Linked DNA regions of Homo sapiens: regions 1, 3, 4, 5 and 6 are each linked to region 2. The links are contacts of gene promoters, found by promoter capture Hi-C in blood cells and fetal thymus (Javierre and others, 2016). All regions are on one chromosome and are shown on one strand. The core of a region is centred on a gene start or on the middle of the fragment in contact, and the rest is flanking DNA. Distances in the headings are between cores, read along the strand shown. Region 1 holds the start of G3BP2 (G3BP stress granule assembly factor 2). Region 2 holds the start of HELQ (helicase, POLQ like). Region 3 overlaps MRPL1 (mitochondrial ribosomal protein L1). Region 4 holds the start of USO1 (USO1 vesicle transport factor). Region 5 holds the start of SDAD1-AS1 (SDAD1 antisense RNA 1). Region 6 holds the start of CNOT6L (CCR4-NOT transcription complex subunit 6 like).

Region 1 (2,866 bases), core at 7-2,506, 7.8 Mb before region 2:
CAGGATAAGGAGGGAAGTTTTCAGAATCTAAAGACACAGTGCCAACACTTTCTTCAAACCAGGAGTTGCCTGCTGACAAATCAACTGCTCAGCTGCTAACTGAACAGTTAAGTTAGTTACTCTACGAAATGGTCAAATAATGTGTTTTCTTCTTTACCTTCTAATTTTTATCCCCATCCATCCCACAAGCATTCTGGTTCACTCTTGATGTTTTTTCACTATTACTAATATTTCGACCCTGAATATCAATCTGAACTATGACAGCTCTTAGTAAGAAATTCATTCTAGGTCCTTATTATTCCTACAATTCCTTGACTGCTTTTCAGAATTAGTTTGTAAAGATTAAATCATAACATAAAGGCCCATAAGAGTAATCTTAAACATTTAAGAAAAATGTTACTGCCAAAGAAAGGATAATTCAATCCTGAGGTTCAAACTCATCGTACCGTTTATCTCCTAAGACCAGGAATCTTGGATTATCAAAAAGACCACTGGATGCTAACAGGGCCAAAAGTTTACTTAGAAACTTGGTTCACATGCCTAAGGCTATATTAACTGCCAAATATGGAGCTAGAGAAAAATTGCCATCATCTCCCACTCTAGTACACCGGGGCTCTCTTAACGACAGTTAATGTTTCCTAGATCCAGGTACCTGCAACACTAACGTTTGAAAGACCAGAACAAGGTACAGAGCCTTGAACCTAAAACCACAGTATCTTAATCCAAGTTAATATCCCACAACAATCATACAGGGAGAACAGGACTTTACTATTCCAGCTAAAAGTGCAAGTGCCTTTTTTTTGTTGTTGTTATGAAGGAAAAGGCACTCTCCTCCCACCCCCCAAATCCGTTAGAACATTAAGTATGTCTTGGGGAAAAAAGCTGATCTATGCAGGAAATTATAGACGAAAATCTATATTCGCCCCAAAGCGGCAAAGGGCCATCTTAAGAAATCTGCTTTTAGAGACGCAGGAAAAATTCTATCAGATTCCACTAACAAAATCAACACAATCTAGGGAAGCTTCTGTTCCTTTCTGTCCCCCCATCCCAACAAAAGCGGGAACCCATCCCCCAAAAGCCATTCCCGAGTCAATAAGGGATCGTCTGCATAAGAGGGGGACGAAGAAGGCGCACGTTACAGTTCCAGTATCCGAACACGTTCGGATTAAACCCGCGGTGGCAGGGAGAGGGGGGTTGGTCAAACACGACGGAACACTAGGTACTGGGTAAGCGAAGCGGCGGCTGCCTTCAAACCCGGATTCTGTTTCCGTGCACAGAAATGGTGCCCGGAGGCCGCCACTTTCGCATCTGCGTCGCTTCTGCCTCCGTCGACACAACCTCTTTTCCCCTCCCCCCACGGGCGGGGTGGCGACGGCCTCTCCGCTCCGAAGGAACAAGGTACAAGAGCCGAAAACGATTCGGAAACAGGAACGGTGGGCTACCCACCCTAAAACATCCCCTCCAGAAAGCCTGCTCCCACACTTCCTGTATTAAGCTTCCATCAGCGCGCCTTCGGGAGCTGCTGCGTGCCTCCCCCCCCACTTCGCCACCTCATCCCCAATAAACCTCAACCCCACCTGTGCACTCGGAGCCCTCTGCCCGCAAGACGCTCGCGGGTCACCTCCCTTCCCAGGCGGCCTCCCACCCCTCACCTAGAGGAAAGACTGGTCTTCTCTCACGCACACACGGCACCGTAGGGAGCCGGCAAGAACAATGTCTCTGCCGCTACACCTCCGGCTCCCGGGCTCACACACCGGACGATTGCCTCGCGCCGCGGAGCGCGAATGGAATGTCCCTTTCCGACCACCACACCGACCTCCCCTCCCGGCGCCCGTACACACCTCCAGCCAACGGCGGCGGCGGGTACGTCGCGCGGAGGTCAGAAGAGTCGCTGAGGACCGGGTGCGGCGGGTTCTTATTGCTCGCCGCCCCCTTCCTCCGACAACTCGGAAGCCTCGGAAGCCGGAGAGCCGCGAGTTCGTCTGCCTCACAACCACCTCTTCCCGGGCGCCAGGCGCTGCGACGTGCGACAAGGACCACGGACGTCCCGCCCCCTTTGCCACCGCCCCCTCTTATTGTTTTACCCCTGCCGAAAGGGCCAGGGAACCCCCGAGCACAGCGTCAGCCAATCACGCATCTCCTCCAGAGCCGGACCCAACCTTCCCGTGTCCCTCTGCGGAGCACGCGCAGTACGCTGCCGCGCTCGCACACGCTCGCGCCCGGAAAGCCGGGGAACCGGAACCGGCCTAAAGCCAAGATAAGAGTCCGCTGATTTGACGTCACAAGCAGGCTGCCTTTCTCCGGTCCCGAGGCTCCAGCCTTGCCGCCCTTCTTCCTGATCGCGCAAGCGAGAGCTGGTTCGCAGCAACGCAGTGTCTTTTGTAGACTGATATTCTGGTCCTTTTTATTAATGGGAAGGAGGGAATTTAGTAATCTCTCTGAATAGGTGTCTGCAGGTTGCTGCTGTAGACGAGCTTAAAATGCAGCCGGTGATTTCAGCTGTTTGCACACTAAACTCACCTACATTGTTTACTTAACCCATCCTAGGTTTTAAGCCCCATTAAGAGGCCCTGCAGTAAAGGAAGAACATGACGTGGGCTTTACAGAGGGGGAAAAGACTATTTCTTTGTGTCCTTGTTACGAATTTAGGCATGGCTAAATATCAGTAGATACTAAAGCATTTTACATACTAAAGCTAAAAGAAGGCCTGAAATACAAGGATTACAGTCCTGTTCTAGCTCTAAGCCCAGACTTGCCCCCAGGGTGAGACACTGGTGACCTTGTTTCATGGACAAAGCCAAGCCAAATCTTGTAGTCAAGGAAGCCACTTTGCATCTTAGGTCTGGCAGTGTTTTCAGAGAATACC
Region 2 (3,146 bases), core at 106-2,605:
TGCACGATCACAGCTCACTGCAGTCTTGACATCCTGGGCTCAAGCGATCCTCCTGCCTCAGCCTCCCAAGTAGCTAGGACTACAGGTGCAGGCCACCACACCCGGCTAATTAAGAAAAAAAAATTTTTTTTTTTTTTTGTAGAGACTGGGTCTCTGTTGCCTAGGCTGGTTTTGAACGCGAACTTCTGGGCTTAAGTGATCCTCCCATCTCTGCCTCCTAAAGCACTGGGATTATAGGCATGAGCCACTGCACACGGCCAGATTGTAATTCTTAAAGCTGTACTAAAACAGCAGGAAGACTGGTAGACGTCTACTGAAATGTCAGCGCATTCGAAGTTTCTGATAACTGCAGCGCTTCCCTCCCAGACTACAATCTACAGTGACTGGCCTCTAACAGAAACATGGTTGTACCACTAGACACTCCAAGGAGTTCCTAGGAATTTGGAATTGAGACTGAGAAACTGAATACTGACTTGGAGTGGTCTGCTACACAGAAGACACACAAACCTGGAGGCAGCAATATAGTAAAGTGATTAAGACAACAGGATTTGGAGCAAGAACTGTACTATCTCAACTTTTCAGGGCCTGATTACTGTCGTAAAATCTAGATAATATAACTAGCTTAACATAACGGGTCTTCAATAAACAGCAGATTTTATTTGTACAGTAGGAGCTGCAGTTATCTGGAAGCCTAGATTTGTGTCTCAGTCATGCCACTTAACTGCTGCGTGCACAACTTTTATGTCTCGGGGTTTACATTTCATATTTATATAGAAATGTAAATAACAAGGCAATCAATACCTCCTAAGTGCCGATTAACAGTGGTAACGAAGACGAGAGAAGTAAACGAAGGCGATAAAACTGGTCAACTCTTTGCATCTGGGAAGGATGCCAAAAGTTTGCAGTTTCAAGTTCCAAGTCCTCCGTACCTGGTCTCCCACCCCTCTGTCAGTGGGCATGTGACGTAGGAGGTCCGGGTTTGTATCACCACCTCCAAGGACGAGACATTCCGGGGAATCTGAGAGTAGAAGGGGCTGTACCTCAACCGGCAGTACGCCCGCGGTTTTCCGCCTCCTGTTCTCAGCCACCATTTCCTCCTCCTCTTTCCCCTCATCTCCGGGCACGAGCTCGGCCGCGGTGGGAGCGCCAAAAATACACCCCAAGCTTGGACGGTTCCTTTTGGGGAGAGACACCCGCCGGCGGATGCGGGAACCACATTCATCCATGGCAAGGACCCAGGGCCCTATTCAGACGTCGTTCTCAGTGACCCAGACGCTAAGCCCATATGGAAGGGAGAGTGGGACGCCGGAGCCCGCTTCTACATCCACCTTGGGAAAAGACCCCAAGTTAGCTCTCAGGGCTCGCGGACCGGAAGCACGCATAAACTTCTACCCTGTCCAATCATAAGCCTCACGTGACCTGCCGCGTAGGGAGGGCACGAACAGAAAGGTGCTGCGCATGCGTATTGAAAAACCTCACCTACTCTCGCGGGTCCTCAGCGTTCTCCTGCGGAACCTTTGAACGGGGTACTCGAGCCCACAGGGGAAGAGCAGCGGAAGGGGCCTTTCGGAACGATTTGGAACGAAAGGAAGTGGAAGAAACGCGGAACCATGGCCGCTGTGGTTGCTGTTTGCGGTGGTCTAGGGAGGAAGAAGTTGACACACTTGGTAACGGCTGCTGTCAGCCTTACACATCCCGGGACTCACACGGGTAAAGTCTCCATATCCTATGCTCCATTGTAGCGCTGCAGGCATTAACCTTAGTCCTAATGGTTAGAGTCGTCCCTGTTAGCAAAACGACTCTGGTTTCTAGGCGATTAAGTTTCTCCAAGATGGGTGGGAATCTGTAATTGCCTTTGACTGTTTTAGTGTCGTCTAATCCACTCCTTTAAAGTATTTAAACGTATGAGGAAGTTGGAGTGGTTCTTAAAAAGCAGAGACTTTCCTAAGATCTCTGGATAATCTTAGTGAGGAAGGGACATTTCCAGAGTCGCCCAGCAGCAAATTCCAGATGTCTAAGGTCCCCAAACAGAACAAAATTGCATAATTTTTGCAATTTTATCTTCTCTGTGCTTCTCTATAAATTCTTTCTGGGACGGGTCTGTTACTTTCTTTTTGGTATGACAGTGCCTTTCTGTTGCTTCTCCTATAAGAATTTGCATTAAGAATTTTCTCTAACCATGGAATGAAGGGAAAATAAATGTCAGAAAGAGCAGGTATGGGCGGGAAAATATGTTCTTTTCCCCCTAAGCCCTGGAAAGCACACCCATGTTGAGTCTTACTCTGTCCCAAATATAAAAGTTTTTAACCATTCTGAATATAATACAAAACCTTTCTTTAATATCGTGTCCCTTAATTCATCCTGTCTCCATAAAAACAAAAATCTTTAGCTATTCAGCTAAGAAAAAGAAATGGTTAATTGCTGTTTCTGTTTAATCGCAGTGCTTTGGAGAAGAGGTTGTTCACAACAGGTATCCAGCAATGAGGACCTGGTAAGAATTTTTTTTTCTATTAGTAAGGCCTTTGCAAATATGACCAAAATGTTTTTCTTTTTAAAACGAGATCTGGTATTAGACTCTAACATCTTTTATTTTAGCTACTTGAATAGAGTTCTGCCGTAGGACAAAACAATTTGATAATTACTCTGAGTTCAGAAATGATGATGAATTGATTGTAGTCATGTAGTCAGCTGAGTTTTGAAGTAGGGGAATTCCTAGATTAGAAGCAAAGCTGCTATAATACCATATTTTTCTTCCTAGATCTTAAATTTAAGGATATGTGATTTGGGAATTGTTTTTTTTTTTTTTACATAGCCCTTTGTAAGCAAATGATATGGGAATTTTAAAAGGTAGTTTGGGTGAGCAGAATTTTAGATAACTGAAAAGAGACTGTACAAAGCTTAGCTATAGGTTGGCTATAGTATTAACATGGACTTTCTGAAAGCACAGGTTCTTGCTACATGCAAAGGTATTTTGACACTAATTAGACCATACAAAGCACTTGGCACAGAGCTGAAGAGTAGTTACGTGAGCTGAATGTAAATTGGAAAGTTTGAGGAATTGGAAAAAACAAAAGAACTTGTCTAGTTTCTCTGAGCATCTGTCTTGGTAATCTAATCCATGCACCATACTTTAAGAAAGTAAAGGG
Region 3 (3,148 bases), core at 476-2,975, 5.6 Mb before region 2:
CTCGTGGAGTACCTTGGTAAAAATTTCCTTTGTTCAAAGAGCCAAGTTTAGCCATCCAAGTATTTTAAGGACATGGTGAAATTTTCATTTTAAAATGATCCCTCTTACTAATATAGGTGGAAAAGAAATGGAGAGGGCCAAGTGTAGAAGACAGAACAGTTTAGAGGCTGTGGCAGTAATCCAGGTGGTAGGTGATGGTAGCCTGGACTGTGATGGTTGTAGCAGAAAGGCAAGAATAGATGGATACGATTCCCTAGGGAGAGTGAGGATTATAGAGTCAGGTGAGAAGGCAGTATAGGACTGACCTCAAGGGAACTCTAACCTTTCACTATCAATTAAAAGAGATAAGAAAGGAGAGGGAGTTGTTTCTATCTCATTGCCACGGGGTGGGAGAGATTTTGAGAATGAGTGCTGGATCAGGGAGACTCAGTAGTTCAGGAAGTTCTGAGGGCTATTTTCTCTGAAGTAGCAAGTGAGGTTATATGCTAAGAATAAGGGGAAGAGAAATGTATTAATAAAGGAGATAAAATAATACAGCTAGACAAATTGACTACAAAAGGATTGAAAACATAGATATCATGATCTAACAGTGCTACTTAAATAGTGGTATTTGGTTTCTTTTGGTCTGTAGTGTTTGATTTCTGTTGAAAATTGTAGTTTCTGGTTGTCATGACTGATAGTAGTGGTTTTGCTTGCTTGCTTGCTTTTTGTTGTTTGTTTGTTTGTTTGTTTGTTTGTTTTTGAGACAGAGTTTCGCTCTTGTTGCCCAGGCTGGAGTGCAGTGGCGCGGCTCACTGCAACCTCTGCCATCCAGGTTCAAGCGATTCTTGTGCCTCAGCCTCTCAGGTAGCTGGGATTACAGGCATGCACCAACACACTCAGCTAATTTTTTTTGCGTTTTTAGTAGAGACAGTTTCATCATCTTGGTCAGGCTGGTCTCAAACTCCTGACCTCAGGTGATCCACCCACCTCAGCTTCCCAAAGTGCTGGGATTACAGGTGTGAGCCACCGCACCCAGCCTGTTTTGTTTTTTTGAGACAGGGTTCCTGTCACCCAGTCTGGAGTGGAATAGTGAGATCAGAACTCACTGCAGCCTCAACTTTCCTGGCTCAAGTGATCCTGCCACCTCAAGCAATCCTCCCACCTCAGCTTCCTGAGTAGCTGGGACTACAGCTGTGCACCGTCGCTAATTTTTAAATTTTTTGTAGAGATGGGGTTCCACTCTATTGCCCAGGCTGGGCTCGAGCTCCTGGGCTCAAGGGTTCCTCCTGCCTTGGCCTCCCAAAGTGCTGGGATTACAGACATGAGCCACTGTGACTGGCCTTGATTTTTTAAAATAGCAGATTGCAATTGATATGTTCAAGAGATTTTTTTGTTTGTTTCCCCAAGAGAATTATTATTTTGGGATCTTCCAAGGTTGTTAGGTTCTTGTATAGTACAACTAGAATTGTTTGGAAGTGTTTGCCAAGCTTCGAATGGATAATTGCTTGTTCCTTCATTTATCATACGTGATTTTTCAAAGTGCTGGGATTCCATGCATGAGCCACCACACTCAGCAATAAAATCTTTATAAACTGATATGAAGTGATCTCTCAAATGTATGCATGTACACACACCTTTATGAAAGGCACACATAAAATCTCATCTGCATCTCATGTATATGTGTGTGTATGTTTGTGAAAATAGGCTCTAATACCTTTAGGTGAAAAAGCAAGATGGAGTAGTGATTAGAGTATGCTACCATTTTATAAAAGAGGAGGGAAATATATTGGTACCTATATGTTTATATATGTATATAGTGTTTCTAAAAAGATGCATAAGGTATTGCTAACATGGGAGAGAAGCTGGGGGCCAGGTGTAGGAGGAAGACTTTACTTTTGTAATCTTTAAATAAAAACATATTTCTAATATTTACACACGCAAAAGAATATAGTTAAGATGAAAAGAATAATAATAGCTTGAAATTCTAAATATTCACTATTAAGCTTAAAAAAATAGAACATTAACAATACCTTCAAAGACCTGTGTACCTTTTTCTTATTTCTCACAGATCCAGTACCCCACTTTGTTCTTATCTTCAGAAGTACTTGGGCAACTGTGTTAATGTCTTATTTATTGTAAAAATGAACAAATAAATTAAGAAATTTTGGGATACATATACATATTCCCTAATAATAGAACTAACATACTCTGATGAATATGAAATAGTTTAAGTTAAAAATAGATGAAAACCCCAGAGCCTTGAGAGGCTGAGGAGGGAGGCCCACTTGAACCCAGGAGTTCAAGGTTATAGTGAGCTGTGTTCATGCCACTGTACTCCAGCCTGGGTGACAGAGTGAAAGCCTGTCTTTAAAAGAAAAAAAAAAGATAAGATAGTTCAAATATTAGATGTATTTACCTGCTTTTAGTTTCAAGAACTGTGGTTTCTATTATTACACTTTTTTTTTTTTTTGAGATGGAGTATCACTCTGTCGCCCAGGCTGGAGTGCGGTGGCGCTATATCGGCTCACTGCAACCTCCGCCTCCTGGGTTCAAACGATTCTCCTGCCTCAGCCTCCCAAGTAGCTGGGACTACAGGTTCGTGCCACCATGCCTGGCTAATCTTTTGTATTTTTAGTAGAGACGGGGTTTCACCGTGTTAGCAAGGATGGTCTTGATCTCCTAACCTCGTGATTCACCCGCCTCAGCCTCCTAAAGTACTGGGATTACAGGCATGAGACACTGTGCCTGGCTATTATTACACTTTTAAAAGAAGGATTAAAAATCACAAAATATTGAATGTTTTCATTTTGAAAGTACTGACTTTTAAAATTAAAAAATTATGAATATAATGATTATTTAATGTTAATATTTTACATGTTTTTCCTTTCAAGCCTTGATACATCATCAAAGGCATAGCCTTTCCAAGATGGTTTATCAGACATCACTTTGTTCTTGTTCTGTAAACATCCGAGTGCCCAACAGACATTTTGCTGCTGCTACAAAGTAAGTATTTTTTTTTAGTTATTATTTCATTTGTTGTCATTTTAATTTTTTTTAAAAAGCATGTTTAGTTCCATAAAGATTTACCAGGACATATAGTTGTAAAAGTTTATTATTTCTGCTTCATCGACCTTATAGTCCTGAAGGAAAGATAAGACATAATAAT
Region 4 (2,826 bases), core at 138-2,637, 7.7 Mb before region 2:
GTGGGGGAGGCAGGAGCTGAAAAAGTAGGCAGGAGCTAAATCATAACAGGCCTGTATGACAAACTAAGGAGTTTGCACTTTATTCTGGACAGAATGGGGAACAACTGGAGGATTTTAAGAGGAATGACATGAACAGATGTTTTGTTGTTGTTAGTCTCACCCAAGGATGGACTGGAGATTGGACTGGAAGGAAGCCAGGGCTGAATGCAGACAAACTAATTAGGAGGCTGTTGCTGTCATCTCAATGAGAAATGATGAGAAGAACATAATCTATGTCACAGGCACAGAGGATGGAGAGCAGAACACCTATTTGAGAAATATTCTATAAATAGAAATGATAGGACATGACTATTGATTGGACATGTGTGGGTGGAAAGCCAGAGTCTAAGATTCTTCCCAGCTTCCTCTGTCTAGCTTAGGCAATTATTTGGACAGTGGTACTACTGAGCACGGCACGCACACAGTAGAAGCAGCATATTGACTTTTTTTCTTTAAGGGAGGCAGGGAAAGATGACGAGTTCAATTTTAAATGCTGAATCTGAGACCTGTGGGGAATCCAAGGGGAGAGGTGCATGAGTCAGTTAGCTAACTAGACCTGTGCTTTTTAGCCTCAAGAAATTTACAAGACTATTCCAGAAGCATGTGTACTGACAACCTCACTGCCAAAGGAACAGGCATACCAATTAGAGAAAATGACAATTTTTCATGTTAAAAAAAAAAAAACTGAAAACACAGGGGTTGAGAGTTAATAACGAAACATTATGTTACTCGCCAAACTGACACAGCAGAACAATGTATTTCTCTAGTAAGCTAAATGTAGGGTTTGATGGGTTTCCTCCTGACGACACTTGAAAATAGAGGTGTACCTGGTGTTTAGATCTAGGAATTCCTTTCAGCAGGTTTGAAGAGCAAGAGCTGAGAAATGCGCCCTCCAGTGGCAGTGGAATGAGGGGTGTCTAGTAACCCTTTTTACCACCAAACAAAGCCCTGTAAAGAAATGCAATTTACCGGGATCAGAAAGCCACAATGCTGGTACCAGTAAACCGTCAAACCAAGCGAACCCTCTCAGGCGCCAGGAAGCCTTACCTGTCACGTTGGCCAAAGGAAAATTTCACTTTCGACTCAACAAAATAAGACCTCAGATTTGATAGCTTGCAGTAAGTCCCGCTTGGCGACGATTAAACACCCTGCAAGTCGAAACGCGTAGTCTAATCAAATCCTCTCCAGCCTGCAGGGCCGGGCTTCCACCACGTGGGTGGCTGCGGCCAGCAGGATCAATCCGCGAAGGGTGGGGGTAGGAGGCGTGCCCCTGCGGTGGGAGGCGGGGTCTGCGCAGTGGGTGGGGCTTCGGCGGAACCTAGCTAAGAGGTTCCTCTCGCCTCCGCTCCCCTTTTGCCTTCAACCTTCGAGCCGCCACGTAATGCCACGTCCCCGCGCATGCGCATCTTGGCCGCTGCTGGCGGCTGTTTCCGGGCTTAGAGGGCTGGAGTGGCCGCCGAGTTGGAGGCGGTGGTGGCAGCAGTAGGAGTGTGTAGAGTGCGGGATTGGGGCCCAGGCCCTGCGGAGGGCGGGGGAAGTTGTCTTCTTTTTTTTCCGGAGGGGCCGGTAAACCTGGTGGCTGAACGGCAAGATGAATTTCCTCCGCGGGGTAATGGGGGGTCAGAGTGCCGGACCCCAGCACACAGAAGCCGAGACGGTGAGAGGAGCAGCGGGTCTGGGACTTGGGAAGGGGTCCGGGCAGGGACGGGGACGGAGCACTCGGAGACCCGAAGGTCACCTCCAGCGTCCCACCATGGAGGGGGCATCCACATGCCGCCTCCCCCTTTGCCCTCCTTCCGCTCCTGAAATCCCAGAGTTATTCAATCACGCCCCCAGCTCAGTCCCCATTGCTGCCGTTCGGCCGGACTGACGGCGGCCGCGCCCCGCAGCTCTGTAGGCCCTGAAGCTCGGGCTAGGAGAGTGGTCCGCAGGTGGTACCGCACGGGAAGGGACGGATGCGCGGCCGAGCTGGCCCGAACTGCCTCCCACGCCCCTCGGGGCCGTGGGCCCCTCCCTCTTTCTCTTTCGCTCGTCTGCACTGGCCGAGAGGAGCCTGAAGTCCTGCTCCCTCCCTCGCAGTCTGAAACTGGGGCGTTGGGGAAAACTGCGAGAAGGTTTAAAACCCAGCTGTTGGTGAGAGCATTTGGCTAAGAATAAAACGATATTCTTTGAAGGACAAATCCACCTGCTCCTGTCCCATCAACTGGAAGAGCGGTCGTTCTGCCTGGTGTTATTTGTTCAGATCCGGCTTTTCGGGCTCACCCAAATATATATCATTTGGCAAATGCTACCTTGAACGTAGTAGGGATCTTAAGCGCTCAAACTGCTTTGGGGACACGTCCACCGCTTTCTGCCTGAACTCCTAATGACATGATTTGCGGCGTTATTTAAAAAAAAAAAAAAATGGTTAGCCGCTGAAAACATTATTTAATAGTTGCTTAGATTCTAGGTTTAGAATACACTTATTTTGAAGTTTGGTTAGTGTTTAATGGAATCGAGGGTGTATGCCTTTTTGAAATAAACTTTTTATTTGAGAAGAATTTTAGATCTACATAAAAGAGACTAAGTATAACACTTTAATGGCTAACTTTGTTAATGGGATCCTGAGGGATAATATAGTAGCTTTCATTTGTCAGGCTCTTACCTTGTGCTAGGTTCTGTGCTGAGCTCTTTATATTCCACATTATGCTTTAATCGTTAACTACCCTGCAAGATAGGTGAGAGTATTCTCACCTTAAAAGTCAAAAAATGAGACTGAGAGGGGTGAAGTAGGCCGGACGCGGTGGC
Region 5 (3,007 bases), core at 344-2,843, 7.5 Mb before region 2:
TATATGGATATTTTATTTCTTCCAAAAAAAATACAATGTTTCTATCTGTGTAAGCAGGACAGAGTGAACAAAATCTTGGGAATGATTCAAAAAGTCTTGGAAAAATAGCAAATACACCAGGTAGAAAGATAGCCCAGTGGCTGATAAGAATTGTTGGTTATCCCAATAACCAATTAAAAAGAGCTTCTTCCAGTGTGTTCAATGCTTCCTCTAAAGAGCAATGCTAACTATACAGACGCAATCCTTTATCTCCTAGTAAAGGAAATCTCTATTATTATTATTATTTTTTTTTTTTGAGACAGAGGCTGGAGTGCAATGGCGCGATCTCGGCTCACTGCAACCTCCGCCTCCCAGGTTCAAGCAATTCTCCTGACTGAGCCTCCCAAGTAGCTGGGATTACAGGCACGCACCACCATGCCCGGCTTATTTTGTATTTTTAGTAGAGACAGGGTTTCTCCATGTAGGTCAGGCTGGTCTCGAACTCCCGACCTCAGGTGATCCTCCTGCCTCGGCCTCCCAAAGTGCTGGGATTACAGGCGTGAGCCACCGCGCCTGGCGGAAATCTTTATTATTTTTTAAAAACCTACTAATCATCATAAAGCACTATAAAGAAATATACATACACATTTTTTTCCATTTAAAAAAAAATTTAGAGGTGGGATCTTGCTATGTTGCCTAGGCTGCAGTGTAGTGGCTATTCACAGGCATGCTCATACCACACCTCAGCCTCAAACTCCTGACCTCAAGCAATCCTCCTGCCTCAGCCTCCCAAGAAGCCGGGACTACAGGTGCACCTGGCATATATATTAATTTAATAATGCCCACAGACCAGTTTGGTGGGGTACTGCCAGGAAAATAAAACTTAAAGAAATCCTAATTACTTGGAAAGCCATTAAGTCTCTATACTCAAAATATCAAATCTCTATGACCTACAAGGACTTCAAGAGTAACATGACATAGGTAAAAGCCTTTAGACTAGGGGTTCAAGTTTGGAGTCCCTTGGGCTATACTGCCAGGTCCCATGTACCAGCTGAGTATCAATCAGTTGACAACCCAGGGCCTGAAACCTTGGCTTGTCTGAGACAGTATTCTTTTTCTTTTTGGCCTAATCAAATTACTAAAATCCTAAAGTAGTATAAAAATGATAGAAATACAAAAAACCTGAGAAAGTCTAAAAGAAAACAAATATTCATCTAAAGACTTGGCATTTCTACAAGTTGTGCTATAGGATATTAGTACGTTTTGTGATCATATTTGCGTACTTATCTGCTGTAAAGAGGTTTGAAAAGCAGATGTATTAAATTTGGAAATGTCTTAGTCCCTAGAAGCAGAGACTGATTTATTACAAGTGATTTGTTGGGGGTATGATCTCAGAAAGGAAGTGAAGGAAGGAGGATAGTGCAGAGACACGCAAAGCAAAGCAAGGATGTGCCCTTGACTGGAGACTAGCTTTAGTCCCAACACAGGAAAACACTGGAGCACATCCTGCATTGGAGTCAGAGCCACCCTGAGGTAATGGGCTGGGCTTTTGTACCACATGATAATGGGCTGTGGGCTACTAGGGTAGGAGGACACCTCCCAGGCACTAGGACTCCGATTTAGCTGAGGACAATGTTGCAGAGAAAGGGCAGCTGAGGGCCACCAGCAGCTGACATTCACAACAAGTGGGGCAAACAGGTACACCGGCCTCGTGAAGGGAATGTCAGCCAGGACTCAACCCCAACCACTAAAAGGACAATGATGAAATGCTCAAACTGACTGTCTAATGGGTAAGTTTACTAATTTAAGGCATTATAAAAATGACAAGTTGTGATTAGGATTCTACATGCATATGAGATTTGAATGACTAGAAGAAATCATCTCAAAAGGTTAAAGAGCATCCTGTAGGGTTAGTGTGCTGGAAGAATAGAAAGATCACAGTGTAGCTGAAAACAATATGATATCAGAAACACAGGCTGGAAGCAGATCATGCAGGCACTTTTGAGCCAGGTTATTAAGTTTCCGTTTTACTCTAAGTATAAATGAGAAGCCATAGAAGGATTTTTAGGAAAGGATAATACATTATAATTTACGTTTTCTGAAGATAATTAGCTTAGAGGCTGTTCTCATTTAAATATATATGAACGCAGCACACATGAACACAGCACAATTTATTCATCCAACTACTGGTCCTACCATTCGCAGATCTGGATCCAATACGGTATGATTGCAGGAGAGAAGATCTTTCACCTCTTGAGGAAAATTACTTAGGTACTCTGGGTAGCAGTGACTAATCTGTAACAAAGCAAAGGCTCTTCTGAAGTTGCTCTCTTTCTCTCCTATAATTCAGATGCATACATTTAGGATGTTCTGCAAAACGAGAGTAAAAGGCTATGTTTCATAGAAGTAGATGGTTCCAAACAACCTTCTTTTCCTTCTACATGTTAATTTCTCCAACATTTATCATGGTTTCTCTAGTCTTAGTAATATTTATGGCATGATTTAGTACCTGCTTTTATGATGAATTTGAAGAAAAAAAATAGTCTTAAAGTTTTGTCCTGGTTAGTTATGCAAAAAGATCTAGTGACATTCTCTAACTCATGATAGGGAGAAAATAAAATTTGCAAAAAGGGAAAGTTAGAAAAATATTTTAATTAAGTTCCCATTCCAGAGTGGAATAAGGTTGAGTATTAGTGAAAAAACATTCAGCAAACTGTGTGTTAATACTGGTCTTTATTTAAGCAATTATATTCTTACCTGTGCCATAAACATCACCAGCTCTGCTAGTTCTTTGCTGGGTTTATTTGGTTGCAATTTGAAAATCTCCACATTGGATTTGTAGTGATTATACTGCTGTAGAAACTGCAGAAAAATAAAATTTAAGTTTGTCACATTGTATTACATGACTTTCTCAGTACAGACATTCAGTAGAGAAATTCTTAGTAGAAACTGTTGACGATCACATGGAGAAAAAGATAATGCAAAAGTATATAAAAACACTCCTTTTGCCTTATCTGCATTCTTCAAA
Region 6 (2,834 bases), core at 225-2,724, 5.6 Mb before region 2:
ACAAATGTAATGAGGTTGGAGTAGAAAAGCACATTAGCAAATAATTATCCAAATGCCATTTGTATTTGGTTCTGAAATGTACTGTAGACCTATTGGCAGCAGGTTTATCTTTACAACTGGGTTTTGCTTAGGCTATTCTCAAAATAGCTTTCCAGCAGCACATACTGAGTAGACAACAGAGGTTGCTTGATCTAGTTTTTGGAGACTGAGGAAAACATGTTTGTTGAGCCTATCTTGATTGACAAGATAACTAGAGGCAATACGGTAAAATGTAACACTGTGCTTCCAATGTGTACAAACGGCTCAGCTAAACTCCCTGAACACAATCCACCTAAACAGTCTAAGCTCAATAGCCGACCGAGTTAAGCAGGATGACAGCTCCAGTAACTTCCTCTTCCTCACCCAGCTCCTCAGCTCGGCGGCGCGTACACGCCTCTCCCCCTAGGAGGCAGGATAAAACAATTTCAAATGCACAAAATCCATCCAATCCCACAGGCCAGGAAAGCCAGTTTCCCTTTCTTCCTCAGCCCTTCCAAGAAAATGTTTGTCTAATTAAAAAAAAAAAAATCTTACCAACGGCAAAGTATTTGCAACAAAAATCCAAAATATTTACTCAGTCCCTCCACACAGCCTTAGGGGAAGGATGAAAAGAAGGGAACACGACACCGCGTATTCCCAAGACTGACTGTTCTGATTCACTTTCCTCCCTCGGGTCCCACAGCCGGCCGGGCGAAGGCTTGCAGTTGGAACGCCAAAATAAGCCTTCGCCTCTCAGGAGACGCGGAGGCGGCCACGGCGACGGCAATCGGCGAGTCCCGCCTCCGACCCTCACCTGCCCAGGCCCGAGGCAGCGCCGTGGGCTCGCGCGGGCTCGCCGTCCCGGGAGGCGTCCGGGGAGGTGGGCGGGCGCCCAGGCAGTTAGGCCGCGCTGCAGGCCGGCGCGCTTCCTGCCGCGGCCGGGGAACGGCGGCCCCGGGATCAGCGGCGCGGCACCGACCAGCAGCTCTCCCAGCCCCGCTGCCGCGCGTGTGCCGCACTCACTCAGCCCTCCCCGGCCGGCCCCCTAGGAGCAGCTCTCACCTGCGAGGCTCGGGAGCCGCAGCCACAAAGCGGGAGGGACACGCCACTCTGGGGTCCCGGCCCCGGGCCACCCCCGACACACACACACACACACACACACACCCCGGAACCTTCGCCCGCCTCTGAAGAGACGCGGGTCAGCCCCGCCGCCCCCTCCAGTCACCCGACACACACCCACTCGCCGTGGGTCCTCGGGCCGCCTCCCCGCCCGCCAAAGTCCCAACTCGCACACCCACACGCACATTTGTCCCTCTCCCACCTCATTTCCCCGGGGACGCGCTCCTCTTCCCAACACTCTCGGTCCTACTCGGAGGCAAAAGAACACTCTACCTCATTCTCTTCCTCTGGCCCAGAAGCAACAGCAGCCATTTCCCCGCGGCAGGGGAAACACACACACAAACACGCGCGCGCGCGCGCACCAGGCCCCCACAGATGCTTCCCCTCCAGAGCCGCGGCCGCAGACGCAGACGCAAACACAAACACCCACGGCGGGCCTCGCTCCCGCCCGCCCCGAGGGGAAGCCGCGGCGGCACACAGGGCCCGTAACCGGGGCTCGCGGGCGGGCGCGCAGGGAACCCGGGCCCGGGGTCTCGGGGGGCCCGCGCCCCCTCCTCACCTGCATTCAGCGCGCCGGGGTCCGGGCGGCGGCGGCGGCGGCGGCGACGGGGCGGCTGGTGCTGGTGCTGCGGCGGCGGGGGAGGCGGCGGCGGCGGTGGCGGCGGGGCTGAGGGCAGCAAAGACATGCAGGCAGCCCGCCGGAGGGGAGAGGCACCGGCCGGAGGGGATGCGGGGCGGGCGGGCCGGGCCGGGCCGCCTGACGAACGGCAGAGGCGGCGGCGCGGAAGGCGGCTGAAGGGAGCGAGGAGACAGACCGGGGGTCGGGAAGGGGGACGAGGGCCGCGCCGCCGGGCTTCGAGGACAGTGACCCCAGGCGCGCAAGAGAGGCCCCGCGGCCGCGGCCGCCGGCGCGAAGGCCCCAGCCGAAGGAAGCTGCGCCCCCGCAGGGCCGGAGCCGCGGCTACTGCTCCGAGAGCCACGCAGAGCCTGGCCTTGGCCTTGGCCTCCTGGTGCTGGGGCTGCCGCCGCTGCGGGGGTTGCCGCTGCGCCGGGTGCTGCTGGGGCCGAGGTTGAACAGAGACGCCAGCTTTCGGTGCCTTCGCTCCCGCTCACACACGTTCACACCCCCGAGGGCCGGGGGAGAGGCGTCCGGGCGATATCGGTATTGAGATTAATAACAAGGTGCAGAGAGTGCGAGAACGAGGAGGGTTGATTGACGTGGAGGGGCTGGCGGGAGTCAGTCACTCCCCGGCGCGGAGGGTTGGGGTGAGGGGAAGGAGGCGGGGCGGTGACGGGGCGGAGCTCCTACGCAGCGCCTTGGCCCCGCCCCCCGTGCGCCGCGTTTTGTCGCGGTGAGCGCGCGGAGGCCCGGGCTTCTTAATGGTTTTCTGTTTTGCTCTGGCTGTTTTCTCACTCTTTTTTCCTGGCCTGAGCGAGGAGCGGGGCTGAGAAGAGTGGTAGAGTTTCAGAAACCCACATCCACAGAGCCTTGGCGAAGAGACGGGAAACCGCCTCACCCCGGGTTCTTGTGTGGGCGCTGTTTACTGCACCCTCCTCGCCCGAGGCGACCTGACAGCGAAGCAGAGCGTAGGTCTAGGTGGCTGAGACGCCAGGGGAGGTGAAGTGACCGAAGGAAATGTTTCCTGACATATTCGGTGGATTTTTTTTAAAAACATATAGCATCTGTAAGTTGTATC

What was found. The method cuts DNA at HindIII sites, captures the fragments that hold promoters and counts their contacts. A CHiCAGO score of 5 or more calls a contact.
Region 1: a fragment that was not itself captured here is called in contact with the fragment with the promoter of HELQ in region 2 in 1 of 17 cell types (total CD4 T cells); the score reaches 9.3 in total CD4 T cells.
Region 3: a fragment that was not itself captured here is called in contact with the fragment with the promoter of HELQ in region 2 in 1 of 17 cell types (total B cells); the score reaches 6.2 in total B cells.
Region 4: a contact is called between the fragment with the promoter of USO1 here and the fragment with the promoter of HELQ in region 2, in 1 of 17 cell types (total CD8 T cells). The highest score is 5.9, in total CD8 T cells.
Region 5: a contact is called between the fragment with the promoter of SDAD1-AS1 here and the fragment with the promoter of HELQ in region 2, in 1 of 17 cell types (naive CD4 T cells). The highest score is 6.5, in naive CD4 T cells.
Region 6: a contact is called between the fragment with the promoter of CNOT6L here and the fragment with the promoter of HELQ in region 2, in 1 of 17 cell types (total B cells). The highest score is 5.3, in total B cells.

What each region holds. Positions count from the first base shown.
Region 1 is chr4:75,671,367-75,674,232 of GRCh38, forward strand. It overlaps G3BP2 (G3BP stress granule assembly factor 2), which reads right to left and starts at 2,045. Exons shown (of 12, transcript NM_203505.3): 1 at 1,842-2,045. RefSeq lists enhancers at 925-1,902, 1,335-1,574, 1,855-2,144. The HindIII fragment of the contact is 474 bases long and covers 1,020-1,493 here.
Region 2 is chr4:83,454,468-83,457,613 of GRCh38, forward strand. It overlaps HELQ (helicase, POLQ like), which reads right to left and starts at 1,356. Exons shown (of 18, transcript NM_133636.5): 1 at 930-1,356. The coding sequence starts at 1,226. MRPS18C (mitochondrial ribosomal protein S18C) reads left to right here and starts at 1,591. Exons shown (of 6, transcript NM_016067.4): 1 at 1,591-1,710; 2 at 2,442-2,491. The coding sequence starts at 1,611. RefSeq lists enhancers at 604-1,434, 863-912, 1,253-1,362, 1,349-1,643. The HindIII fragment of the contact is 1,733 bases long and covers 1,163-2,895 here.
Region 3 is chr4:77,868,871-77,872,018 of GRCh38, forward strand. MRPL1 (mitochondrial ribosomal protein L1) reads left to right here. Exons shown (of 9, transcript NM_020236.4): 2 at 2,874-2,985. Among named protein-coding and RNA genes, the nearest start is that of MRPL1, 7.6 kb to the left of the region's middle. The HindIII fragment of the contact is 516 bases long and covers 1,468-1,983 here.
Region 4 is chr4:75,723,190-75,726,015 of GRCh38, forward strand. USO1 (USO1 vesicle transport factor) reads left to right here and starts at 1,388. Exons shown (of 24, transcript NM_003715.4): 1 at 1,388-1,696. The coding sequence starts at 1,631. It also overlaps a transcript of G3BP2 not described here. RefSeq lists enhancers at 578-1,498, 1,499-2,418, 1,515-1,594 and silencers at 1,175-1,344, 1,679-1,856. The HindIII fragment of the contact is 5,085 bases long and covers 1-2,826 here.
Region 5 is chr4:75,979,197-75,982,203 of GRCh38, forward strand. SDAD1-AS1 (SDAD1 antisense RNA 1) reads left to right here and starts at 1,594. Exons shown (of 3, transcript NR_125906.1): 1 at 1,594-1,769. SDAD1 (SDA1 domain containing 1) reads right to left here. Exons shown (of 22, transcript NM_018115.4): 2 at 2,737-2,841; 3 at 2,176-2,274. The HindIII fragment of the contact is 11,776 bases long and covers 1-3,007 here.
Region 6 is chr4:77,817,894-77,820,727 of GRCh38, forward strand. CNOT6L (CCR4-NOT transcription complex subunit 6 like) reads right to left here and starts at 1,475. Exons shown (of 12, transcript NM_144571.3): 1 at 1,411-1,475. The coding sequence starts at 1,415. RefSeq lists silencers at 772-1,171, 1,252-1,321, 1,812-1,911, 1,952-2,111, 2,372-2,521. The HindIII fragment of the contact is 6,822 bases long and covers 1-2,834 here.